Regions from separate parts of the Homo sapiens genome. Here all the other regions are linked to region 2. Evidence: promoter capture Hi-C in 16 types of primary human blood cells and fetal thymus (Javierre and others, 2016). All regions are on one chromosome and are shown on one strand. The core of a region is centred on a gene start or on the middle of the fragment in contact, and the rest is flanking DNA. Distances in the headings are between cores, read along the strand shown. Region 1 overlaps CKLF-CMTM1 (CKLF-CMTM1 readthrough). Region 2 holds the start of CA7 (carbonic anhydrase 7). Region 3 overlaps BEAN1 (brain expressed associated with NEDD4 1). Region 4 overlaps PHAF1 (phagophore assembly factor 1). Region 5 overlaps CDH5 (cadherin 5).

Region 1 (5,308 bases), core at 1,452-3,951, 270 kb before region 2:
CGTACAAATTCAGGGACAGCCTCAAACGTTTCTCCTTCTCGCCCACTGGAATGTTGAAGATCCTGAGACTGGTGAGCGGAGAGCTGGTGAGACCTAGCTGGGCGGATGTGGCCGGCAGTGGCCTCGGGGAAATGCCCACGGGGTGCCAGCTCCAGAAACCTTCCATAATTCACTTTGCCACTCACCTTTGTTTTGCCTCACCTTTCCTCCCCACCACCCCCTGCTCCCCACACACTAAACCTTTCCTACTAAACTTGCCTCTTTTTTTCCCTATTTTTTCTTTTTTTTTTTTTTTTATTATACTTTAACTTACGGGGTACATGTGTAGAACGTGCAGTTTTGTTACATAGGTATATACGCGCCATGGTGGTTTGCTGCACCCATCAACTCGTCACCTACATTAGGTATTTCTCCTAATGCTATCCCTCCCCTAGTCCCCCACTCCCTACAGGCCCCAGTGTGTGATGTTCCCCTCCCTGTGTCCATGTGTTCTCGTTGTTCAACTCTCACTTATGAGTGAGAACATGCAGTGTTTGGTTTTCTGTTCTTGCGTTAGTTTGCTGAGAATAATGGTTTCCAGCTTCATCCATGTCCCCGCAAAGGACATGAACTCATCCTTTTTTATGGCTGCATAGTATTCCATGGTGTATATGTGCCACATTTTCTTTATCCAGTCTATCATTGATGGACATTTGGGTTGGTTCAGTTTCCTCTCACAAAGGAAATTAGGGAAGCAATGAAGATAATAGGAATTTATAAGTTAGGAAACAAAAATAATAGAATCAGTCAATACAAGAGCTGTCGTTTGAAAGTCCTATTAAATTGATAAGCCATTGGCCAACCAAGAAAAAAAGGGGGAAGAAAAGACATATATTTAAAATTAGAAACCAGAAGGGGAAAATAATCACAAACATCAGCAAAACTGAAAGGATCTACAGGAGTACCTTGCAAAATAGATGTGAATAATTGGATGAAATGGTTGATTTTCCAGAATAATGTAAATCACCAAAACTGATCCCAGAATAGGGAAAAATCTAAACAGGGCAATATAAACATAGAAGAAAATGAGAATTTTAGCAAATGAGTATCTTTCAAAAATGTATCAGGCCCAGACCTTTTTACAAGTTAACTCTTTCAAGCCTTCATGGGATATAATTCTGACACTACTCTAACTTTGTCAAAGAATAGAGAAAGAAGAAATAACTTCTGAACTATCTTTACACAATCAGTATAATACTGATAGGAAAACTTGACTGAGTTCAGAAAAAGAAAACGAAGTAGAGATCTCACTTGCATCAGAACAAAATGTCAATCTATTAGCAGATAATATTCATCAGTATTTTTTGAAAATACAATACCACAAGAAAGAAACAGGATGATTCAATATTAAGATTCTATTAAAATAATTCACTGTATTAGAAGTAAAAGTGAAAATGAGATTATATCTATCACATTATAAAAAATTAGGAGATTATGTCACAGAACATGTGACAAAATTCAACATTTGTCCCTGATTGCCAAGAAGGGAGACCAGTAAGATAGGAGTATATAAATATTCCATTGACATTGTAAAAATAAACATTTCAAACTAAGAGTCAGCATATTTAATTAAATATCAGAAGTATTATTTATTAAATGAGGGGAAAAATGATGCCTACACCATGAGTCAATTTTTTCTGAAACCACTAGTCATCATAATTAGGAATGGGAAATAATATTTGAAAAGAGGTGGCCAGGCGCAGTGACTCACATCTGTAATCCCAGCACTTTGGGAGGCCAAGGTAGGCAGATAACCTCAGTCAGGAGTTCAAGACCAGCCTGGCCAATATGGTGAAACCCCGTCTCTACTAAAAATTCAAAAATTAGCCAGTCTTAGTGACACGCGCCTGTAGTCCCAGCTACTCGGGAGGCTGCGGCAGGAGAATTGTTCGAACCCAGGAAGCAGAGGTTGCAGTGAGCTGAGATCACACCACTGCACTCCAGCCTGAGCGACAGAGCAAGACTGTCTCAAAAAAAAAAAAAAAGGAGGTAAAATATATGCTTTCTTTCAGCTAATGTAATTGCATATCTAGAAAAAAACAAATCAACTGGAAACAATTTAGAGCAAGATGATTTAGTCAGGTGACTCGTTATTGTGTTAATAAATAAAAGCTTTCCTAGACAAATAACCACTTAAAATATAAGAAAATATTTCTGTTTACAACAGTCATCAAAAATGATCAAATATCTAAAAATAAGTGAAATGTGATACACATATGGGAAGAAAACTTTAAAACTCTCCTGAGAGATATTTTTTAAAAACCACTAAAATAACTGGAAAGATATATTTTGTTCTTGAGAAAAACTAAATTCTGTAATTTTTCCAAATTATAAGTAAGTATTTCATTTAGAAATCCCAACTAAAATGCCAACAGGCTTAGTCTGGGGAACTTGACCAACACAAACATGGGAGACATAAACAGTCTGAGAATGAGTAAGAAGAGGAAGACTAGGTGAAACAATAACTCAGTATAGAGTGAATTGTCTATAACTTAGAGTACTAGAGAAGGAAGCACCAATTCAATGGAAGAGAACAGTCTCAAGAGACCGAACTACATCTGAGAATTTAGTATACAATAAAGGTTGGATTTCAGATCAATAGGGATAATACTGGCATTTCCCAATAAATGATGTTGAGATAATCAGCAGCTGTTTGGAAAGAAAGAAAACTGAGGCTCTTCCTCACTGTTTCTACCAAAATCAATGTATATGTACTTTACCAGTATATATACAGACTTCTTTCTAGTATGAAATATAAACTGTTAATAGTGGTTACTTTTAAGGAGAGAGACTAAGGTTGGGTTGGGGGAAGAGAAAGAAATTGGTATTATTTTATCCTTCTATACTGTGTGCTTTTTTTATTATTTTCATGTATTTCATTTCTTCAAAATGTAAGAAATGTTAAAAATGTATGTGCAAAACAATACAGGCCACTGTACTGTGATATAATCAGATTTACATTCTGACAATGTAGATTTTTTTAAATCATGCATTAAAACAAATCCTGTTTCTTTTATTGCAGAGTCTTATCTTAGGAGCATTAGCTTGTTTCATCATCACCCAAGCCAATGAGTCATTTATAACAATCACAAGTCTGGAAATCTGCATTGTCGTTTTTTTTATTCTAATATATGTGCTAACCCTTCACCACTTGCTGACCTATTTACATTGGCCCTTACTTGTAAGTGTTCATTTTTACAATTCTTCAAATCCAAGCTTTGCCCTCAGCCCCAGAGTAAGGGCTCTCCTTAAGTGAAAACAACGGAGCTATCTCTCTAGACAAGGACATAGCTGAGCTGTGACAGTTAGGGTGTTGCCCTGGTCCAGAAGGATTCCTTGAACCCTTGTGCCTGCAGGACAGCCAACACACCGCTGCTCCAGCCCTGAGTGTAAAACCCCTCATTATGGCACTAGACACATGGTACTTTTCAGCTTGTCCTAAAAAAATATATATACTTAGTATATAAAGTAGGTAAGCACATTTCTCAGCCATTGCTTGTACAACAGTGCATGCTTCTACTTTGCAGAGAGCACTCTGATTATAAACATTCTCCCCAAAAGCAAAAGTTGATATGATGGCATTGTAGAAAATTGCCGTGCATACACTTAAAGATTGTAGTCAACCTGTGTGTGTGTGTTAGGGTCCATATCACAAAGAGGTGCCGGACTATCCAGAAAAAGACATTACAGAGCCTTCTTTAATAGCTTTTCCCAGACTTTCACATTCTTTGCCAACTGAACAATTGCTAAAGCTAACCCCTCAGGTCTCAGACTAGAGAGGCAGTACGGTTTTGTCCAGAGGCAGCCATAGGCCCAGATTCTGGTCCTGCCACCTTACTAGCTATGTAACCTTTAGCCTCAGTTTCCCCATTTAAGAAATACAGAGAAGGAAAAGTATGATAATAACTACCTCATAGGGTTCCTGAAACATTTAAATGTGTGCAAAGCCAATAACATAGTATGTGACACAAATTAAATATTCTAATGTCCAAAAAGAACAGCCACCCATCAGACCCATCAGATAGCTGGGTGGCGTTTGCCATTCTGTCTTGCGCTGTGAACAATCCTAATTCAGAGCTTAGGCCTCTTCCACATCCCACTTCCTTATAGAACATTTTTCTAACCTTAAAGTCAGAATGTTCCTTTTGAGCTAAAACTCAAACATTGTCTTCAAATCTGTGAGAGATTTTCTCAAAGGCTGCTGAGCTCTCTCTGTCCCACAGAATGCCGAGTACAGGAAGCAGACAAAGCAAATATGAGCAACTTTAATTGAACATGTGGAAGACCCTTTTAGTTATGGAGAGGTTTCTCAGGGGAAACTCAAATCTCTGTCCGTGGAAATTTTCAAGAAGGGAAGGTAAAGTAACCATTTTTGAGCATATACCATGTGCCAGATACTTTTTCATGTCACCTTATTTAATCCTCACAACAACCCAGTGAGGTTATGGTCACCCCTCACCCCTCATTTAACAGATGAGAAAATTGGATTAAAGACATTCAGTTGCCAATTGAATTCAATTCAGTAGCCATATGTAGGTGCCAGAAACTCAGATATGCACCCAGGTCTATCTGACTCTAAAGCCCAGACTCTTTGCAGACTTTACAACCTATTATCTTGTGATGGTTTTCTATCTCCATTCTCCATTAAGGTAAGAAACTCAGTGAAACTATGTCTTTATGTCCTCCTCAGCTTCTCTAAATTTTATCTCTGTATCTTGTTTCCTCATGCTTTTCTTAAAATACAGCACCAAAGGTGAATTGGTTATCCTGGTGGGTGTACACAGGCCCTTGGGGGTGGGTGACTGATGGCTCCACAGCACCATCAGCTGTGGTCAGGAGGATCAGAGCCCTCTGAGAAATGGACTCATGCAGGCTGGGTCCACACATAAAGCTGGAGAGGGCCAGGAGACATCATACTTTGCTGTAGGGTTCAGTGGTAATGCCCAAGAAGTATCCCAGACAAAGGTAAGAACTAGGATCTCCTGAGCATGAACCGTGAGTGTCCTATGAGAGAACCTGTTCTCACAGTGGTCACAGGAAGTTCAGCCCAGCTCTTGCAGGGTTACAGGCCTTTGGTCAACTCCAATAAAGCCAGGCCCCCTTGCTGTGTCTGTCTTAAGTGACAGTATCCTCTTTTTTGGGGATGACTGGGAGCCCAGAGGTGATTCGGAGCCCCTGTCCTTTCCTGCTACTGTCCTCGAGAGCATGGGCCAGACCTAGCACAGCACAGGATATGCCTTGTGAGCTCCCAGGAGCTTCATGGTGGGGA
Region 2 (4,953 bases), core at 468-2,967:
TGAAGGGGAGCCAGGCAGACAAGATGGCAGATTCCTGTACAAGGTCAGCCAAGAGCAGGGCCTGAAAGAGTGTCTCTATTCAAGATCTGGACAGCAGACATTGTACTAGTGGCTGTTCGACTCCTGCTGAGTACAGGACCCCGGGTGGGATCATTTATCTGTCCTTCCATCCACCCCTCTGTTTGTCTTTCCAAAACTGCCTGCTGAGGACTAGCCAGAGACAAGCCCTCTCCCTGGCACAAGGCCACGTGCTAAGATGAATCAGATTGGGCCGGCTGGAGCCAGTGGGTGGAAGACAGAGGACGCACCAGGTGGAGGGCACAACAACGACCAGGGCTCGTGGGTGGGAAAATACTGGGCCAAGGCAGGCACTGGGGTTGAGTGCAGGGTGGAGGGTCTGAGCTCCCAGGGGGTGTACTGAAGGTTATGGGGAGGTCAGGAGAGGAGGGACAAACAGCAGGCTATGGAGGGACAAAGCAGAGTCCCTGAAGAAAGGAGGAAGCAGTAGACAAAATAACAGGGAGGGTGGAAGTCAGAGCCTCAGACTTAGCTCCATGGGGAAGCCACCTGGTGTCTGCCTGTCTTCAGGCCCATTGGTTGATGCCACTCCTTCTCACTCCCCCTTGGGGGATCTGGTTCCACCTGGGCCAAGGGTTCACATTGCCATTCCTGTCCCTGCATCTACCCCAGGGTTCCCGGACCCCCACACTCACAGCACACCCTTGTACCCAGCACCAAGGAGAAATGGTAAAGACCCCAGTGTCAGGCCAGGAGTGGTGGCTCACTCCTCTAATCCCAACACTTTGGGAGGCCAAGGCGGGTGGATTACTTGAGGCCAGAAGTTCAAGACCAGCCCAGGCAACATGGTGAAACCCCCATCTCTACAAAAAACACAAAAATTAGCTGGATGTGGTGGCACACACCTGTAATCCCAGCTACTTGGAAGGCTGAAGCAGAAGAATCACTTGAATCAAGGAGGTGGAGGTTGCAGTGAGCTGATATAGCACCAGCCTGGGTGACAGAGCAAGACTCTGTCTAAAAACAAACAAGCAAACAAACAAACAAACAAACAAATCCCACAAAACCCCCAGTGTCTGGAGTAAGAACCCCAGCTAATGAACCCTTTACCCCCTGGCTAGATGACCTTGGGCAAGTCACTTCACTTCTCTGGGCCTCACTCCCCTCCTCTGTCAGATAGGGCTGATGGAAGCACCCAACCTTGTAGGGTAACAGAGAGGGTTATACCATAGGAAGGACCCAAAGCTTGGTCCAGCGCCTGCAACAGCCTCTGGCAAACAGTGGAAGCTCCAGTTTTGGACACTTGATGGTCAGTGTAGTTTGCAGTTTAAAGGGGACTTTCCAACCCCAAAAGATTCAGGACCCAGAGCTCAGGTCTCTGGTGGTGGCATTTGCAGGTCTGGGGCAAGCCTAGGGAAGGGACGCCATGTGCGGCACGGGCATCTAGTGTCCCAGAGTCCGCACGGGTTGCTGGGGGAAAAAGAGGGATAGTCGCCCAGCCAGGGCAGGGGTGGGAGTTGGGGGGAGAGGGTTACTTCCTCCTGCCCTGAATCTCCGCTCGGGGTTCAACTGGCTCGCCGGCGGGCGAGGGCGGGGCAGGCCGGCCTCTCTGGCCCTGCTGGGGGGTGGGGGGCGGGTCCCCCGGGAACTGCTCCTCCCGCCAGCCGCTGCTTTAAGAGGCTGCTCCGCGGTAGCGAGCGGGGCCGGAGCCGCAGCCCGAACGAGCGGACCGAGCCGACCGGGCAGGTGCACGGCTGCGGGGACGGCAGCGGCATGACCGGCCACCACGGCTGGGGCTACGGCCAGGACGACGGTAGGCACAGACCTCCCCCACCGCCTCTGGCTCGGACCCCCGACCCAACTGCACTCGCCCCAACCCTCTTGCCCAGCTGGTTTCCCAGACCGGAAAGCTCCCACACTCCAGGCTGGGCGGGACCCCTCTTCCCATCCCGGCCCCCGAACTTGGCCCAAGCCTTGGTCCCCCGCGCCAGACGCAAAGTCCGCGCTGCGCCCCGGGTGGCCCCGCCGCCAGCAAGCGACCTGGCGGCTGTGTCCTGCCGCCTCCTCCGCGAAGCCCCTGATTGCCCAGCCCGCTCAGACCCAGGCCCAGACTCTCACTCACTCGCCCCGGGCGTGCGCAGCGCGTGGGGGTGGCCCAGGGCAGCGGGGGGCGGGCGCCGCGGAGCGCTGTGCGCGGGTGTCTGCGGGGAGCGCGCACGGCAAGTGAGCGGGGACCTCGGGGGAGCGGGGCTCCGCGTGGCAAGGGCGCAGTGTCCCCCGGAGAGAATTTCCCCGCAGAAGTGGCCGAGCTGCCTTCTCGGCCGGTACGTGAGGGAAGGGGGCACTTGGGGGCGCAAGCATGTGTCTGGGTGTCTACACCGAGCAGGGTGTTTGCGCACGTCCGGGTGTGAGTCGTGGGAGCCCGTGGCCCACACCAGCCTCCTGGGCTGACGCGGAAGAGAGCTCCTTCATCCTGCCTCAGTTTCCTTAGGACTCAGAGAAAGGGAGAAGAGGCAGAAGGTGAGAGCCAGACGGCTGGAGTGTGGGTCTGGGGCAGTCAATTCCCTTTGGGGCCATTTCTTACCAAGCAGGGGTGGGGGTGTGGGGTAAGGGGTTCCCTATTTCCCTGGGGAGCCAGTGCAAGACAGGTGGGGTGCGGAGAAGAAAAAGTAATGATGGGAGGAACATCCCCCAGCCCCACTCCTCTGCGGAGAGGCAGTCACTTTGTGAGGTTGGGTGGGGGACCACAGTCTGGGAAGCCAGAAAGTTGCAGTAGACCAGAGGGAGGGTGCTGTGGAGTCTTTGGCTCCCTCTGGGGCCCCAAGAACAAAGGAGCATATTTTGGAAGAGAACCCCCAGATCTGGGTATGCAAGAGCTGGAAAGAGACATTCAGAAAAAGATGATATAGACAAGCAGAGAGGGAGAGACAGGCAGACATGGGGCAGATGGACAGGACCCATAGGGATCATCTTCTCCCAGCACCTGCTCTGAGCCACCTTTTGGGTGCTTCCCCCAGAGCCAGAGTCCCCTGCCTCCAGCTCTTCTTGCTAGTCATGCCCACCAGCTCTGAGCACCCAGTGTCCTGTGTAGCCTGCTCCATGGGCCTGCTCCCCCAAAGCAGCCACCCCATCACCCAGGCAGAGCTGGATTGTCCAGTCGAGGAAGGGAAGGACAGAGGACAGAGGTGCCGGCATGCAGCAGTGTTCACAGGGCTTCAAAAATAACCCAGAGGGGCCGGGCCACGATTCTGAGTCATCCATTGGGGACACGGCTCTGTCGGCACCTGCTGCTGTTTTCTCAGGAAAACTTAAGAAGCCAAAAAGGGGGAGAAGCACCAGCCGGCAGTAGCTCTAAAAATAGGCTGCATCTCAGGATGTTCCCCAGGGAGATGCTGAGCCTCTCGGCTGCAGATGGATCCTCTGGGAGGCAGGTGGTGGGCGCCTGTGGGTGTGTATGCAGGTGTGTGTGTGTGTGTGTGTGTGTGTGTGCATGGGCATGTGTTTTGCTGTGGTCCTTTATGCAAACTTGGGTCTCCAACAGAGGGGTTTGTGTGTGAGAGAGCATATGCGTGTGTCAGATGTAGTCTGCAGGGCTGTGTGTGTGTTTGTACACATGAATGTTCTGGGCCTGGCTGCTCTGTGTGCACAATGGAAGATCATAGAAAGATTAATGTGTTCATAGGAAGATCTCTATGGACTTGCAGGCACACACATTGGGAGGGCAGCTGGGGGCAGTGCATGCACATGCTGTATTTATATTAGTACATATGCATGCACACATGTGTGAGTGGCCCTCAGTTCCCTCATCTGTGAAATGGGGATCTTGCTGGTTTCTATTTCACAAGGTGGTTGTGAGAGGCAAATACATGTCACAGAGTCAAAGCTAGGTTGATGTGAGTTTTTGTTGTTATTTATCACAAACACCAACACCAAATTGCCCAAGGCACAGAAAGAGGTGAGATACTGATGGGGTCAGGTCAGAGACTTCAGATGTCTGGAGGTCTCCCTGTTGGGGAGACTTATTACTCTGAGCCACCCCGAGCCTGTAGCTGTTATGTTCCCTTCCATACAGTACCTCTCTGGGCCTCCTATCAGCACTGGAAGGTGAGTTTTAGTGAGACCATTTCACAGACAAAGAAATGGAGGCTGAAAGGGGAAATGGCAAAGCTGGGATTGGAACTCCAAGCTGTGCAGCTCCAATGCAGGGGCTCACCTCTGAAAGGATGCTGAAGAGACCATTCCCCTATGGGTGTCCTCGGCCTGAAGCCCAGAGATCCTGGCTGGCCTGAGTCCTTGCCCTCCTCCCCACCTGCAGGCCCCTCGCATTGGCACAAGCTGTATCCCATTGCCCAGGGAGATCGCCAATCACCCATCAATATCATCTCCAGCCAGGCTGTGTACTCTCCCAGCCTGCAACCACTGGAGCTTTCCTATGAGGCCTGCATGTCCCTCAGCATCACCAACAATGGCCACTCTGTCCAGGTAGACTTCAATGACAGCGATGACCGAACCGGTAAGTGGCCCCTGCCAAAGCCTGGCACCTGGCCCCTGGCCCCTTAGGGTCCTAACCTTGTGTTGGGCAGTCTCAGGAAGCATGCTATGGTGGGTAAGAAAGGTTCCTCCTCTCACCAGCTGTGAAGCCTTGGGCTGATCTTCAGTCTCCTTATGTATAAAGTGAGAGCAATAAGACCTACCCTCTTAGGTCATAGAGGGGAAAAATGAAAAAACCAAGTAAGGTCGATAGATCTGGCACACAGCAGATGCTCAGGAAATGCTAATTTCTTTCCTTCCCTTCCTTCCCTTCCTTGTGGTGCTACAGATCAGGTTTGTTTTCACTCTCTGCCCCATCACTGACCTGCCAAGCCCTCCTCGCTGTGTGATCTGGCCAAGCCTAGCAGGGAGAGAGAAGGGAGCTAAAATTTACAAGTGCCAAAC
Region 3 (5,151 bases), core at 1,323-3,822, 390 kb before region 2:
GAATAGAGCACTGTGGCATTGCTCCCATATTATTCTTGTGAGGGAGTAGGATGATCAATTACACCTGCAATACTAGTGTGCTGGCGTGTCTACCAAGTGTAAGATCCAATTATCTAAAATAATATGATGATCAAATTCCCAGACATTATGTAATTTATTACTGAATTTGTATATTCAGAAACCTGGGAAGTGCTCTTTAAATTCCTTCAAACTAGAAATTATCCTAAGCATTAAATAAAAACACTGAACTAAATAGTGTAACCACAAGAGTGGCTGAAGTTCAGTATCTGACTTAACAAATGTTTACATATCATTTCAATATCAATTTTAGCTCAATCTTAGCACATCCAGGGTTTCTCCTGCAGTGGGGCTTATTTTTCACTGTGCAAGAATGAAAGCCCCAGCTCTACACGATTGTCTTATTACGAGAGCCGTGGGGATGGCAAGCTGATGAAACACATGCAGGAGAACATAGGTGCTCACAGCACTTTCCCTTTGTCTGACATTGGCTTTGATTGGCTTTGATTTAGAACAGACTGAAAAAAACATACAAAGGCTGAATGAGGGTCTGTTTCTAAGTGTACTGCAATAACCAAGACCTATACTTCTACTACTGCAAAAATCTTTGCAGGATGGGTCTGGATGGGGTGGCTCATACCTGTAATCCCAGCACTTTGGGAGGCCGAAACGGGAGGATCGCTTGAGGCCAGGAGTTTGAGACCAGCTTGGGCAACATAGCAAGACCCTGTGTATACAAACAAAATTTTAAGATTAGCCAGGTGTGGTGGTACACACCTATAGTCCCAGCTACTTGGAAGGCAAAGGCAGGAGGATCGCTTGAGCATAGGAGTTCAAGGCGGCAGTGAGCTATGATTGTGCCACTGTACTCCAGGCTCCAGCCTGGGTGACAGAGCAAGAAGACCCTGTCTCAAAAATCAAAAAAGAAAGAAAGAAAGAAAAGAAAAAGAAAAAATCTTTGCAGGATGAGAAGTATTCAAGGGACACCTACACTGAAGCATAGGTGAGCAGAGGTATCAAAAGCACTGATAATATGAGTCATCATTAAAAGACAGTCTAGGTAAATATCACACATTTCCATTCAGCAGCTGCTGTGGCTTGCATATTTTGAACTGAAAAGGAATCCTGTGGGGGCTTTTCACTTATCACTTATTTGAAGAAAGGCTGTTTTAGGCCCCCTCATTGAACACAAGGCCTAGGTTTCAAAATTAGTTTTCCAGTATCATCACCAGACATATTATACTCTGTTAATACTGTTTGACACTGAACTGCTGTAATTGATGGTGCAACTACCTCTTGTGCATCCAGCAAAGAACAAACCTATTAGAGTGAAAAGCTAATCATGAAAAAATGGATGATTCCATAAAGACGTGAAGAAGGAACTCTTTTGTCTCGGGATCTATTAACCACTCCCAGGCACCAGTACAGACAGATCCCTCCATGAGAAACATTCTCCAGTGTCCTGGGGCAGGTTGCAAATGATGAATATATTTAGAGAATCTTCTTTCAAAATCTTTCACTTGTTCCAGCCATGACCTTGACCTTGACCCTGGATGCCTCAGTCCCTGTGCAGGCCCTCAGCCCTCCACCACTTTGCAACCCAAACTCCAACCAAAGTTTTTTTATTTTAATATAGTCCAATGTATCCATTTTTAAATGGTTAGTATCTTCTGTGTCCTGTTTAAGAAATGCAAGGTCATGAAGATGTTCTCTGATGTTTTCCACTTCAAGCTTTACTCTTTTGTCTTTCACATTTAGTTCTGAGTCTAGGGAATGTCTTTAAATTTTGAATATTTGATTGTCATGTATTGGGCACCTATTATGAGCCAGGCATCCTGCTAGGCAGTTTGCTTTGATTAGCTCATAGCCGAAATTGCTGCTCCCATTTTACAGATGAGGCAATAGAGGCTTAGAGATCTGACTTGCTCAGTGGGCACTGCCAGCAAGAGGCAGTGCCAGGACTTGAACCCAGGATTGTCTGTGTCTTATTTAACCAGAGTTCTGTCCTAGTCCAAGAAGCAGGTCAGCTCCAGCAAAGGAACTCGGGACTTTGGCTGCCCAAGGAAGGTGGCTGAAGGATGATCCTTTTCCAGAGACCCTAGAGCTGCTTACCTTCTCAGGATACTAAACGTTGGTGAACACAAGGCCTGGGACTGGGACTGGTTTGATTCTCAAAATAGCTCAGGCCTGCAAAGCAATCTGATGGGGAGTGGGGGATAAAGAACTTCTCCCCAAATGCCCCATAATGTTTTTTGGAATCCACATGCCATGAACCTCATGCTGGGAAACTACTCCAAAGCTCCATGGTTTAGTGTGATGTTGGCAGTCAGTTGAGATCATCAGGATCTATCATGGCAAAGAGGTAACTGTCTTTTCCTATTCTACTGGTTTCTCTCGTCCTGCCTACTGAAGTAACATACTATGCTAATAGATTTCCTGATCTTAAATCATCCTTGCATTTCTGGAATAAGCCCTAGTATACTAATTTTAATACACTGCTACCCTGATGCTGGTTTTCCAAATGCCCTTGTAAATTCTGGGAAATGAAGGAATCTCTGAGGATCAGAGGACAAAATCCTATCACCTTTAATGTGCTCCAGAATCGAAAACCACAGGGCCATGCCTTTTGTAGGCCTCTGGCTTTGGGCCTGGGCAGCATGGTGAACAGTGAAGGAGCCATAATTGCTGTCCCACCAGAAAGGCCTAAAGGAGTTGGCAAAAGCATGCCCATCCAGTGTGACATTTACAGAGGTCAGGTGGCACCAGAATCCCTCATGGGTGTTTGGCGAAGGGATCTGTGGGGAGACCAGGAATCTGAGTGCGTTGTCAGGTGAGTGTTTATTGGGGAAATTTCTAGACGCTTTTTGCAGGACAGACATTCCAGAGTGTAGAGAAAAGGAGGATGGGGTTTAGAGATGGTTTGCTTCATAGCTGGGTTTCCCAATCCTCATGGCACCTCACGTGGCAGACTCACTTACCCCAATGCCCAACTGTACGGCCCCAGAGTAACGAAGGGACACACAGCTCCCCAGGATGGAGAGAGGATATCATATTATTCCCTGGTCTATGGAGTCAGAACCAGGTTCAAATCCTGTCTCCCTCCCCCCAACTAAAAATTGTCTTTGCGATCTTGGGCAAGTCACTTCACCTTCCTGAGCCTCAGTACCCTCATCTATTAAATCAGATTACTAGCACCTACCTCATAAAGCTGCTAAGATTTGTAAATTTTATCTTTTCAAAAAAACAACTTTTGGTTTCATTGATATTCTGTGTTGCTTTTCTGTTTTCTAGTTCGTTGATTTCTGCTCTCATCTTTATTATTTCCTTCCTCTACTTGCTTTGGGTTTTGTTTACTCTTTTTCTAGTTTCTTAACATGAAAGCTTAGGTTTTCAAGTCGAGGCCTTTCTTCTTTTCCTTTCTTCTTTTCTAATATAAGTATTTAAAGCTATGAATTTCCCACTAAGCATTGCTTTAGCTGAATTCCATAAATTTTGATACTATGTTGTGTTTTTTTTCATTCTGTTATACACACACACACACACACACACACACATTGTTTTGTTTTCTGAAGACAAAGGCTTCAAAAGGCTGGAGTGCAGTGGTGCAATCATAGCTCACTGTAACCTTGAACTCCTGGGCTCAAGCAGTCCTCCCACTTCAGCCTCCCAAGTAGCTGGGACTATAGGCATGCACCACCATACCCGGCTAACTTTTTATTATTTTTTTGTATATACAGGATCTCACTATGTTGCCCAAGCTGGTGTCAAACTCCTGGGCTAAGGCAATCCTCCCACCTTGACCTCCCAAAGTGTTGGGATTACAGGCATGAGCCACAGTGCCTAGCCTAAAATATATTTTTATTTTTATTGTGATTTCTTCTTTGACCTATAGATTATTTAGAAGCATGTAGTTTAATTTTTTTTTTTTGGGTCAGGGGGACAGAGTCTTGCTCTGTTGCCCAGGCTGGAGTGCAGTGGCACAATCTCAGCTCATTGCAACCTCTGTCTTCCAGGTTCAAATGATTCTCCTGCCTCAACCTCCCAAGTAGCTGGGATTACAAGCACATGCCACCACACCTGGCTAATTTTTGTATTTTTAGTAGAGACAGGGTTTTGCCATGTTGGCCAGGGTGGTCTCAAACTCCTGACCTCAAATGATCCTCCTGCCTCAGCCTCCCAAAGTGCTGGGATTCCAGGCGTGAGCCCACCACGCCCGGCCTAATTTCTAAGTAGTTGGGGTTTTCCCGGATAGTTTTCTATTTTGGATCTCTAATTCCATTGTGGTCAGAGAACATATTTTGTATGATTTAAATCTTTTTAAATCTATTGAGACTTGTTTTATGGCCCATATGTGGTCTATCCTGGAGAATGTCTCATGTGCACTTGAAAAGAATGCGTAATCTTCAGTTGGTGAAGGCTTCTATGAATGTCACACTGGTTGATAGCGTCATTCAAGTCTTCTGTATCCTGGCTGAGTTTCTAATTGCTTTGTCAGTTATTGAGATTGGGACATTAAAATCTCCACTATTATTGTTGAATTATCTATATCTTCTTTCAATTCTCCCAGTTTTTACTTCATGTTTTGGGGGACTTGTTAAGTGCATATATAATACATATATAGTTTTTATATCTTCCTAATATGTTGACTTTTTTGTCATTATGAAATGTCTTTGTCTCTAGAAATATATATCTTGCCTTAAAGTCTATTTTGCCTGATATCAGCATAACCACTCAAGCTGTTTGTATGCTATATCTCCTTCCATCCTTTTATTTTCAAACTATTTGTGTCTTTGAATCAGGTGTGTTTCTTGCAGTCAGCATACAGGTAGGTCTTGTCTTTTTATTTACTCTGACAATCTCTGCCCTTTAAGTGGAGTTATTAATCCATGCATACATCTTCCTTTTCTTTCTTTCTTTTTTTTTTTTTTTTTTTTGCTTTGGGTTTGGTTTTTTATTTTGTTATTTTTATTTTTTCCTGAATATGGATCATACTTTATAAGACAAAGAAACAAGAAAGTGTGATCCATTTGGATGGGCTCTTTCCAACAGTAGCAGGGAAGCTGCTGGTTTTCACAGACTGGGGAGCAGAGCTGGTGGGGAGGGGTATGGAGGCAGTCATAGGCAAGAACATTA
Region 4 (4,924 bases), core at 613-3,112, 290 kb after region 2:
CATAATGTAATCACCTCCCAAAGCCCTGACCTTCTAATACCATCACCTTGGTGGTTAGGATTTCAACATATGAATTTTAGGGGAACAAAAGCATTCAGTCCATTGCCACATAGTTGGTAGAAGACAAATGATGCAGATGTTTATGGTTAAAGCTTTTGTTTAGTTTTGTCAAGGGACTGGACATAGTCTTATAATTAGCAAATCTTAATAAGCAACAGCACTGCTTCTCTCAGCATGCACATAGGCCTGCTGTGTGCTTATATAGCTTTGTGACAGTTCCCAAGTGTTTCCTGGAGATGCATCCTGTGGGTTGCAGTGCTACTGCTCTCCCCTTTTTTGTTTTTTTCTTTTTCTTTTTTTTGAGACAGAGTCTTACTCTGTTGCTGAGGCTGGAGTGCAGTGGCACGATCTCAGCTTACTGCACCCTCTGCCTCCCAGGTTCAAGTGATTCTCCTGCCTCAGCCTCCCAAGTAGCTGGGATTACAGGCACGCATTAGCACACCCGGCTAATTTTTGTATTTTTAGTAGAGACAGGGTTTCACCATGTTGTTCAGGCTGGTCTGGAACTCCTGACCTCATGATCCGCCCACCTCGGCCTCCCAAAGTGCTGGGATTACAGGCGTGAGCCACCGCACCTGGCCAGCTCTCCCCTTTTTTCTACCTTTTTTTGTTTTGTTTTGTTTTGTTTTGTAAGAGATGGCCTCATTCTGTCATCCAGGCTGTAGTGCAGTGGTGCAATCATAGCTCACTGCAGCCTCAAAACTCCTGGGCTCAAGTGATCTCACCTAAGCCTCCCAAGTAGCTAGGACCACAGGCATGTGCTACCATGCCCAGTTAATTTTTGTCTATGTGGAGATGGGTCTTGCTGTGTTACCCAGAATGATCTTGAACTCCTGGGCTCAATCGATCCTCCCTCCTTGGCTTTCCAAAGTGCTGGTATTACAGGTGCAAGCCGCTACACCCAGCTTTTCTCCCTATATTATCCAGGCCGGTGTGCATTGGAATACTGTGGCCTTGAACTCCTGGGCTCAAGCAATCCTGCCTTAACCTCCTGACTAGGCTACAGGCACGCACCACCATGCCTGGCTCTCCTTTTTCTACCCTTTATGCCAAGTTCTCAACGTAGGCAAGCAGACGGGACTTGTTGAATTGTGGTTTGGCCACACCTTGGCCAGAGTTTTGCCAACCATGAACAACAACAACAAAAAGAAATAGTTGGCCGGGTGCAGTGGCTCATGCCTGTAATCCCAGCACTTTGGGAGGCCAAAGCGGGTGGATTACCTGAGGTCAGGAGTTCAAGACCAGCCTGACCAATATGATGAAACCCCATCTCTGCTAAAAATACAAAAATTAGCTGGGCGTGGTAAAGCACGCCTGTACTCCCAGCTACTCAGGAGGCTGAGACAGGAGAATCGCTTGAACTCAGGAGGCGGAGGTTGCAGTGAGCTGAGATAGCGCCATTGCACTGGAGCCTGGGCAACAAGAGCGAAACTCCTTCTCACAGAAAAAAAAAAAAAAGAGTGCCACCTTCAGTAGCTGGTCCCTCCAGGATCCATGCCTCATTTTGTGACATTCCCATGCCTGGCCAACTTCAGCTGCTTTGGGTTGTGGATCGTGCTTAACGGGACTGGGAGCTTCAGCGTGGAGTTTGTTCCCATAAAGAGAGCTGAGAACCTTCGTGGAGCTCATTGCCTAACCAGCATTTATTCGTAAATTGGGTTCCTGCATCAGTCTCTGAGGCATTGATTCCTTTTTTTTTTTTTTTTTTTTTTTTTTTGCTTCTTTTTTCTTTCTTTGAGACATGGTCTCCCTCTGTCACCCAGGCTGGAATGCAGTGGCATCATCATAGCTAAGTGCAGCCTTGAACTCCTGGGCACAAGGAATCCTTCTGCCTCAGCCTCCGAAGAAACTGGGACTACAGGTGCACACCACCACACCCAGCTAATTCTATTTTTTTGTAGACACGTGGTCTCCCTATGTTGCCCAGGCTGGTCTCAAACTCCTAGCCTTAAGCGGTCGTCCCACCTCAGCCTCCCAAATGGTTCTTAATTATTAAGAATCTGGTATATAGGCTGGACACAGTGGCTCACGCCTATAATCCCAGCACTTTGGGAGGCCGAGGTGGGCGGATCACGAGGTCAGGAGATTGAGACCATCCTGACTAACGGTGAAACCCCATCTCTACTAAAAAATAGAAAAAATTAGCCAGGCATGGTGGCAGGCGCCTGTAGTTCCAGCTACTCGGGAGGCTGAGGCAGGAGAATGGCGTGAACCCAGGAGGTGGAGCTTGCAGTGAGCCGAGATAGCGCCACCGCGCTCCAGCCTGAGCGACAGAGCAAGACTCCTTCTCAAAAAAAAAAAAAAAGAATCTGGTATATGAACTCTGAGCCCACTTCTGTGAACAGTTAGACAGTTCACAACCTTCACGTTACGAATTTCTTAAAATGTGATTTTCTAGCCAAGACAGAACAACCACTTAAAGGAGTGTCATGCTTAAGCTATGGTTTTGGGGTTTTTTGTTGTTGTTGTTTTTTGACAGAGTCTTGCTGTGTTGTCCAGGCTAGAGTGCAGTGGTGTGATCTCAGCTCACTGCAACCTCTGCCTCCTGGGTTAAAGCGATTCTCATGCCTCAGCCTCCCAAGTATCTGGGATTACAGACGTGTGCCACCACGCCAGGCTAATTTCTGTATTTTTAGTAGAGATGGGGTTTCACCATATTGACCAGGCTGGTCTCAAACTCCTGACATCAAGTGATCCGCCCGCCTCAACCTCCCAAAGTGCTGGGATTACAGGTGTGAGCCACCGCACCCAGCCTGAGCTATAGTTTTTGAGAGAATTGAGATGTGGCAGCAAAGTCAAGTGATTTAGTGTGGTTTTTTCCCAAGAGGATCACTGCTTGAAACAGCAGGGTGGTCAAGGATCAGGGTCATTAATCATCCCAGGAGACAGCAGGAGGAGCCTGTCGAGGGTGGGCTCTCAGCCAATTATGTCTGCCACCTTGTACAGCACATTCCCAGCAGTCACACTGCTCACTGCTTACACTGTCAGCAGGGCAAATGATTTGTTAAGTCAGGGCCTCAAAGGGTTATCGTCTTCACTGAGAGTTTCCTGTGGCAAGCACAAGTTTCTCAACCCACTCATTTCTCATATCCTTCCTTATGGAATATGGCTGCAGTGATGCTTTTAATGCAGGGAGTCAGTTCAGCCATCTGGTCTCCACAATAATTTGTAGAAAGATACACTTTGGGGAATCACAATCTAAAAAGTAGCTGAAACTCTTAGTAATTATACCTGGATATACTTCAAGCAGAGGGAGACAGAAGACTTACCTTTGAAGGGTGCCTTCCTTACAGCCCCCATCTGACATCCACACGTATCTGGTGCCTGAAGAAATGTGTTAGGCCACTGGATACTTTGGGCCCAGAGTCCAGCTTGACAGGACTTTTGGTGGGTTCTATAGGTCACCCAAGGCTTGCCTAAGCCTTTATTTCCCCCTCAGTGTATACTTGCTGAGAATAGAGATTCTTGGGTTAGTTGAACTCAGTATTTAGTTATTTCAGATTTGGGTTCTCTGAAGCTTCTGCATATAAAAAATGGATTGTTACACATGAGAGAACTTTGACAACTGTAAAGCCTTGTGCTGAGTAAGATGGTGTCAGTGATTATCATGGCACCAAGAATTACAATCCTTCTCAGATTCTTGGCTTCCTTTTTTTTTTTGCTGGGTGGTGGGAGCAAAAACCTTGTCTCCCCCTCCACAAAATGGGGAAATTTTTACTGTTGGTGTATCTATTACTGTGCCACAACCACTTCTACATTTGTGTGTTTGTGTGTGTGTCATTAACTGTAATCATTTCTGAAATGTTTTATTAGAAAAAGTCAGAGCTTAAAGATTCTTCCCAAAGAATAAACTTTTGGCAAATCAGAAGGTCTTTTATTCCTCCACTTAGCTGGTTTGTCCCTTTTGAGTGATAATGGCTCTTGTCTGGGTTGGAGGGCTCTGTCAGGTGTTTGTGTAGAATTAGGGAGACAAGTAATGCATGCTTCACTCTACTTGTTGATAGAGCAGTTTTACAGGTTCAGTGTCTCTGGTTAGGGGTTACCATTGAGAGTACTTTTGTAGTTTTTTTTTAAGACAGTGTCTCACTCTGTCACCCAGGCTGGAATGCAGTGGTGTGATCTTAGCTCACTGCAGTCTCTGCCTCCTGGGCTCAAGTGATCCTCCCACCTTAGCCTCCCAAGTAGCTAGGACTGCAGGAGTGTGCCACCACGCCTGGCTAATTTTTATATTATATTTTGTAGAGCCAGGGTTTCACCATGTTGCCCAGGCTGGTCTTGAACGCCTGAGCTCAAGCAGTTCACCCCGCTTGGCCTCCCAAAGTGCTGGGATCATAGGCAAGAGCCACCACACCCGGCCAAGAAGTACCTCTTAACATAAATCCTTGCATCTTACCATAGTTGTGTGATGATCTGATTAAGGTCTTCTCCAGCACACATAAGCTCCAGTGATGGAGCTTATGGAGAAAAAACAGCACTGCCTTTTTTTTTTTTTTTTTTTTTTTTTGAGACTGTCTCAGTCTGTCACCCAGGCTAGAGTGCAGTGGTGTGATCTTGGCTCACTGCAACCTCTGCCTCCTGGGCTCAAGTGATCCTCCCACCTCACCCTTCCAAGTAGATGGGACTACAGACACCCACCACCATGCCCAGCTAATTTTTGTATGTTTTTGTAGAGACGGAGTATCACCATGTTGCCCAGGCTGGTGTCAAACTCTGAGCTCAAACAACCCATCCGCCTTGGCCTCCCAAAGTGCTGGGATTATAGGCGTGAGCCACCACGTCTGGCCAGAAACTGCACTGTTTTTGTTCACTTTTGTTTCTTCAACATCTAGCACAATGTCCTAGCCCATGGTAGGCAATAAAGTAG
Region 5 (5,417 bases), core at 1,488-3,987, 450 kb before region 2:
CTCTACTAAAAATACCAAAATTAGCTGGGCGTGGTGGCAGGTGCCTGTAATCCCAGCTACTTGGAAGGCTGAGGCAGGAGAATCGCTTGAACCTGGGAGGTGGAAGTTGTAGTGAGCGGAGGTCGTGCCATTGCACTCCAATCTGGGTACCAAGAGCAATATTCTGTCTCAAGAACAAAGAAAAAGCCTGTCCTTAAGGACCTGTGGGTAGAACCACTAGTGACGCTCTTAAGAGCAGGACCATAGTTGATCCATTCTATGTCCCAAACGCTGGAAATAGGGCCAGGCACACAGCCAGGGTTGTGGGTGTGGCCATGAGGCTGCTGAGATGAAATGGGGAGCAGCTGAAGACAGACACCAGGCCCAGCCGCTGTCTTGATGACCTCAGAAATATCACTTGTCGAGGCCATGGGCCCCTCATCTATAAAATGGGTGTCATCCTGGTACTACCTTGCATAGTTGCTGTGCAGATCATGTGCCACACACATGCTTGGCCCAGAGCAGGCACTCACCATCCTTTTTCCTTACGCAGCCTCTGGATTATGAATACATCCAGCAATACAGCTTCATCGTCGAGGCCACAGACCCCACCATCGACCTCCGATACATGAGCCCTCCCGCGGGAAACAGAGCCCAGGTCATTATCAACATCACAGATGTGGACGAGCCCCCCATTTTCCAGCAGCCTTTCTACCACTTCCAGCTGAAGGAAAACCAGAAGAAGCCTCTGATTGGCACAGTGCTGGCCATGGACCCTGATGCGGCTAGGCATAGCATTGGGTAAGGGGGCGTGTGTCGATGAGAATGATAAGGACAATCCGGCCTGGATGTTCCTATGCCTGCTGGTCTGAGGCCAGGACTCAGAGAGGGGAACTGGCTTCTCCTAGCACTTACAGGGAAAGTGACAGAGGCAAGACCAGAAGCCCAAGCTCTTGCACTTGGCAGCCTGGCATCTTGACCTGCCTGGACTCCCCCACCTAGCATGGTCCTGGGCATCCAGAGCTACTTGTCCTCTGTCCGGCCTTGAAGGCTTATTCTCTGCACCACAGCTCTCACCAGTCCTATGTGGTAAGATCTGACAGTCAAGAAAGCAACCAATCAGACGACACACCAGAGGCCCCTTCACTAAAACTGTATTCTTGAATCTATCTTCCCCAAACCACAAAAGTAAGAAGTGTTCATTTTATACAGTGAAACAACACAGAGATCTACCAAGAAAACACTGATAACCCCCACTCTCAGATAACTCATGTTCGTGGCCTAACCTGGTCCTATTGCTCCTTTCTTTTCGTGACCACACAAACATGTGGATGCATTTATGGTGGGTTTGTTGTTGTCTGTTTGCTTTTGATGTTTGATTGTTTTAAAATTTTTTTGGATCATGCCATGCTGGTTTCATCGATATTTGCTCTTCTATCTTAACTAAATTTCTCTTTTACAATCTTTAGAAAAAAATGATATAGTTCCAACAGATACTTTTTAGAGCCATATAATATGCAATAGTAAGTATAAATTCAATTCAATCTTATTTTATTGTAGATGCATAGCTGATTTTGCCAGCACCATTTACTAAATATTATAATAATAAGTCATCGTTTTCCCACCTTCATTATATACTAAGTTTTCTGTATATACCTGTATCTACTTCTAATTCTCTGTCCTATCCATCATTCTATAGCAAAGCTATTCTGTTTTATTCTACTAGCTTGTATAAGTCCATTCTCCTATAAAGAAATAGTTAAGACTGGGTAATTTATAAAGAAAAGAGGTTTAACAGGAAGTATAGTGGCTTCTCCTTCTGGGGAGGCCTCAGAAAACTTACAGTCCTGGGGAAGCAGGCACGTCTTACACGGCCAGAACAGGAGTGGGAAGGGAGTTGTTACACACTTTTCAACAACCTGGTCTCATGATAACTCACTAGCTTGAGAACAGAACCTAGGGGATGGAGCTAACCCATTCATGAGAACTCTGTCCCATGGTCTATCCACCTCCCACCAGGGCCCACCTCCAACACTGGGGATTACATTTCAACATGAGATTCGGTGGGGACACAGATCCAAACCATATAGCTTTACACTAGATCTTAGATATACATAAAAGTCCTTCCCATGTTGCTTTTTTATTTGATATAATTTTTTGTCAACTCTCATTTTTTCTTTTGTGAAATTTAAAATTTTGTATCCAGGTTTTTTAAACATTAGAATTCTAGTGTTTATATATTAATTTTGGTATAGCTAATGTTTCAAGGGTATTAAGTCTTCTTATTAAGGACAAAATATGTTCTTCCATTTTGGCCTCATATCCTAAGTTTTGGGACTACTCTTCATTGCCATTCTTTTCTAAATAGCCTGTAATTATAATTTTTGTTTCTCCTTTGATCCAAGGGTTTATTTAAGAGATTGACTTGATTTCTTTATTTTCATTTATAAGTCATAGGGTGTTTTTTTTGTTTTGCTTTAGCTTGTTCTGTGATGTGATACAATTGTATTTGTGTCCACTTCTTCCTAGAATATCTAAGTTTTGACTTTATGTATTTAAATTTTTCTATTCAGTTAACAAAGGTTTGCAACTATTTTACCTTCATTATGGTTTGTAACTTTCATCCAAATGTAATTAGCCAATTTGTTCTGCTTAAATATTTTGCCTTTAATTCTGTTTCCTGATGTTACATTTGTTAGTCCTGTTTTCATGTTATTCATATACGCCTAATGCAAATTTTACAACCTTTACTTTTAATTTTTCCAGGTCATTTGGCATTAAGTTGTCTCTTGAAAACAAGAATGCATTTGGCTTTGCTTTTTAATCTAAACTGAAATGCTTTGTGTTTAACCTATTTACATTTTTCATCATAATTGATATGTTTGATGTTCCTTCTTTTATCTTGTTTTACATTTCTCATTTATCAAATTTAATGGCTTTTTTCTTTTTCCTCATCTTTGCTATACAGTCTATGTTTCTTTATTTTTTTTTTCTCCTAGATATTTGGATGAGGTGCATCCATTTTTATTTCTACCAGTGAGATTTACTTCTATCTGCAAAATTTAAAATGTTTTCTTGGACCTATATTTTCTAGTTAAAACTATTATAGACATACACACACCCATTGCTTTTCTATGTATGATAAAAAAAATCAATAGTTTTGTTTTAATTCTTCCCATGCCAGGTTTTTACTTTATATTGAGATGTTTAGTTAGATACAGTAAGTTTTCAAAAAAAAATTCAGGACACAAATATCTTAGTTCTTTGCCTTTTTTGGGGGGTGGGGGGGACAGGTTCTTCCTCTGTCACCCAGGCTAGAGTGCAGTGGCACAACCATAGCTCACTACAGCCTTGAACATCTAGGCTGAAGCAACCCTCCCACCTCAGCCTCTGAGTATCTGGGACTACAGGCACACACCACCACACCAGGCTAATCTTTTTTTTTTTTTTTTTTTTTTTTTTTTTTTTTTTTTTTTTTTTTGGTGAGACAGGGTCTCACTCTGTCACCTGGGCTGGGCTGGTCTTGAACTCCTGGCCTCAAGCAAACCTCCAGCTTCAGCCTCTCCCAAAGCACTCAAATTACAGATGTGAGCCACCATGCCCAACCTTGCCTTCTAATAACACCTAGATGTATTCGTATAATCCTCAGATTATAAACACTTCCCTTCAAAAATACTATCAATGTATTCTAGTATTTAATTTTGTGGGGGCATCTGAGGCAAATCTGATTTTTCTTTCCTCATAAGGAAATTATTTCTTTCTGTCTGGACTCTTTTCAGTTTCTTCACACAGCCTTGAAATTCGTAAGTGTCGTCAGGATTTGCCTAAGTATTGGGGTTTTTTTCAATGATGCCTGATGTCAATGACATCTTATAATGTGTAGACTCAAGCCTTTCTTCAGATCAGGAAACTTTTCTTTTCTTTTTTTTTTTTTTTTTTTTTGTTATTTCTTCTGTTCTGTTTGTTCTGGGATTTTCCTCATTAATAGCAACTATTATTCCTATATACACAAAACATATATATTTATCTTTCCATAGATTTTTCCTGATTTCTGAAAGAACTTTTTAAGTTTTTTATTTCACAAAGTTAATTTCTTTGTAATTACTTCTTATCTCTTCCAGCTCTTTTTGTATTCCTTCCTGGCTCTTGCCCAATGATCTTTTCATTAATCACTAAAACAAGTCCCAGCTATGGTGTGATGTCACCTGTTCAGCTCTGAAAGTGCATCTGATGGTCTCAGGTACCACCTCCAGTCCAGTGATGGCAATGTAACTAAGATCAAAGACATTATCTTGCTATCCTGAATCCCTCTGTGTAGGTCCACTCTTGTCTGAGTGGCAGAGTGCAATGAGCAGTGAGAGAGGGGCATGGAGTGGGATGCAGGGGACAGATGCAGAAGGGCCTTGTCCATCATGCTGAGGAGTGTAGACTCAGCAAAGAACAATGGAAAGCCATGAAACTCTCTCCCCTGGGCAGATACTCCATCCGCAGGACCAGTGACAAGGGCCAGTTCTTCCGAGTCACAAAAAAGGGGGACATTTACAATGAGAAAGAACTGGACAGAGAAGTCTACCCCTGGTATAACCTGACTGTGGAGGCCAAAGAACTGGATTCCACTGGTGAGTGGCCACATCTGCCAGGGCACCTGGATTCTTTTCCTTTTCCCTCATTCTTCCAAAACTGGCATAATCAATAATTTGGGGTCTCTAGACGTATTAGAAGTGCCTGCTGAAGCACCCGCTGGTTGGGATGCTATAGAGCTCCCATGCCCAAGTGTGGTCCTTGAACCCAGCAGTATCAACATCCCCTGAGACCTTGTTGCATCTCGGGCCTCACCCCCACACTGAATCGGAATCTCATGCATGTCACAGTTTGAAAACCACTGTCATGAAACAGGCTGTGCAGATGTCTCTGTGACGAGAATCACCCAAGTCACCTATTAAGCATAAAGCTCTACTCCACCCTGCAGGTTCTGGTCCAGTGAGCCAGAGATGTGCATTTAACAAGGGTCCCATGATTCTTAGTTATCATGGCTGTTTGGGAAATGTTCCTTCAGAGGGTGTTTATGCACCAGTTAATAGGTAGAATTCAAAATGTGAAGCAGCTTCCAATTTTGAGATTGTGAGTTTCTCTAGAAATTGTGTAATTTTTGCCAGAGGGAGGGGCAAGAGTTGGAGTTTTGCATCCTCTATCTATATTAGAAAATCACAATCACCCTCCAGGAGAACTATTAATACTCCCACTTTACCCAGGAGCCCGCTAGGCCAAGGATCCCTGGCGCCTGCCGGGCCCACCCAGACTCACTTCTGCCAACACAGCTGCTGCCCCAAACTGTAATGGACTCCTGCATGTTTGGCCAGATCAGTCTTTGCTTCTTTCTCCTCCACATAATCCCATTCATAGACTCTTTACATTTAAATGGTTTAAAATACGGAAAA

What was found. The method cuts DNA at HindIII sites, captures the fragments that hold promoters and counts their contacts. A CHiCAGO score of 5 or more calls a contact.
Region 1: a fragment that was not itself captured here is called in contact with the fragment with the promoter of CA7 in region 2 in 1 of 17 cell types (endothelial precursors); the score reaches 5.7 in endothelial precursors.
Region 3: a fragment that was not itself captured here is called in contact with the fragment with the promoter of CA7 in region 2 in 7 of 17 cell types (M0 macrophages, fetal thymus, total B cells and 4 more); the score reaches 8.2 in M0 macrophages.
Region 4: a fragment that was not itself captured here is called in contact with the fragment with the promoter of CA7 in region 2 in 1 of 17 cell types (erythroblasts); the score reaches 5.8 in erythroblasts.
Region 5: a contact is called between a fragment that was not itself captured here and the fragment with the promoter of CA7 in region 2, in 5 of 17 cell types (M0 macrophages, total B cells, neutrophils and 2 more). The highest score is 7.5, in M0 macrophages.

The regions. Positions count from the first base shown.
Region 1 is chr16:66,566,875-66,572,182 of GRCh38, forward strand. All of the region lies in intron 2 of CKLF-CMTM1 (CKLF-CMTM1 readthrough), which reads left to right. It overlaps CMTM1 (CKLF like MARVEL transmembrane domain containing 1), which reads left to right. Exons shown (of 4, transcript NM_052999.4): 1 at 1-71; 2 at 3,062-3,220. Among named protein-coding and RNA genes, the nearest start is that of CMTM1, 3.1 kb to the left of the region's middle. The HindIII fragment of the contact is 1,104 bases long and covers 2,150-3,253 here.
Region 2 is chr16:66,842,697-66,847,649 of GRCh38, forward strand. It overlaps CA7 (carbonic anhydrase 7), which reads left to right and starts at 1,718. Exons shown (of 7, transcript NM_005182.3): 1 at 1,718-1,831; 2 at 4,334-4,531. The coding sequence starts at 1,792. The region is part of intron 3 of LOC124903699 (a long non-coding RNA gene); the gene reads right to left. RefSeq lists an enhancer at 1,646-2,147. The HindIII fragment of the contact is 7,096 bases long and covers 1,262-4,953 here.
Region 3 is chr16:66,449,798-66,454,948 of GRCh38, forward strand. The region is part of intron 2 of BEAN1 (brain expressed associated with NEDD4 1); the gene reads left to right. It also overlaps the pseudogene LOC107984807. Among named protein-coding and RNA genes, the nearest start is that of BEAN1-AS1, 24 kb to the right of the region's middle. The HindIII fragment of the contact is 1,650 bases long and covers 1,748-3,397 here.
Region 4 is chr16:67,134,805-67,139,728 of GRCh38, forward strand. All of the region lies in intron 8 of PHAF1 (phagophore assembly factor 1), which reads left to right. Among named protein-coding and RNA genes, the nearest start is that of B3GNT9, 14 kb to the right of the region's middle. The HindIII fragment of the contact is 3,425 bases long and covers 151-3,575 here.
Region 5 is chr16:66,391,604-66,397,020 of GRCh38, forward strand. CDH5 (cadherin 5) reads left to right here. Exons shown (of 12, transcript NM_001795.5): 7 at 533-780; 8 at 4,456-4,598. Among named protein-coding and RNA genes, the nearest start is that of LINC00920, 14 kb to the right of the region's middle. The HindIII fragment of the contact is 9,921 bases long and covers 1-5,417 here.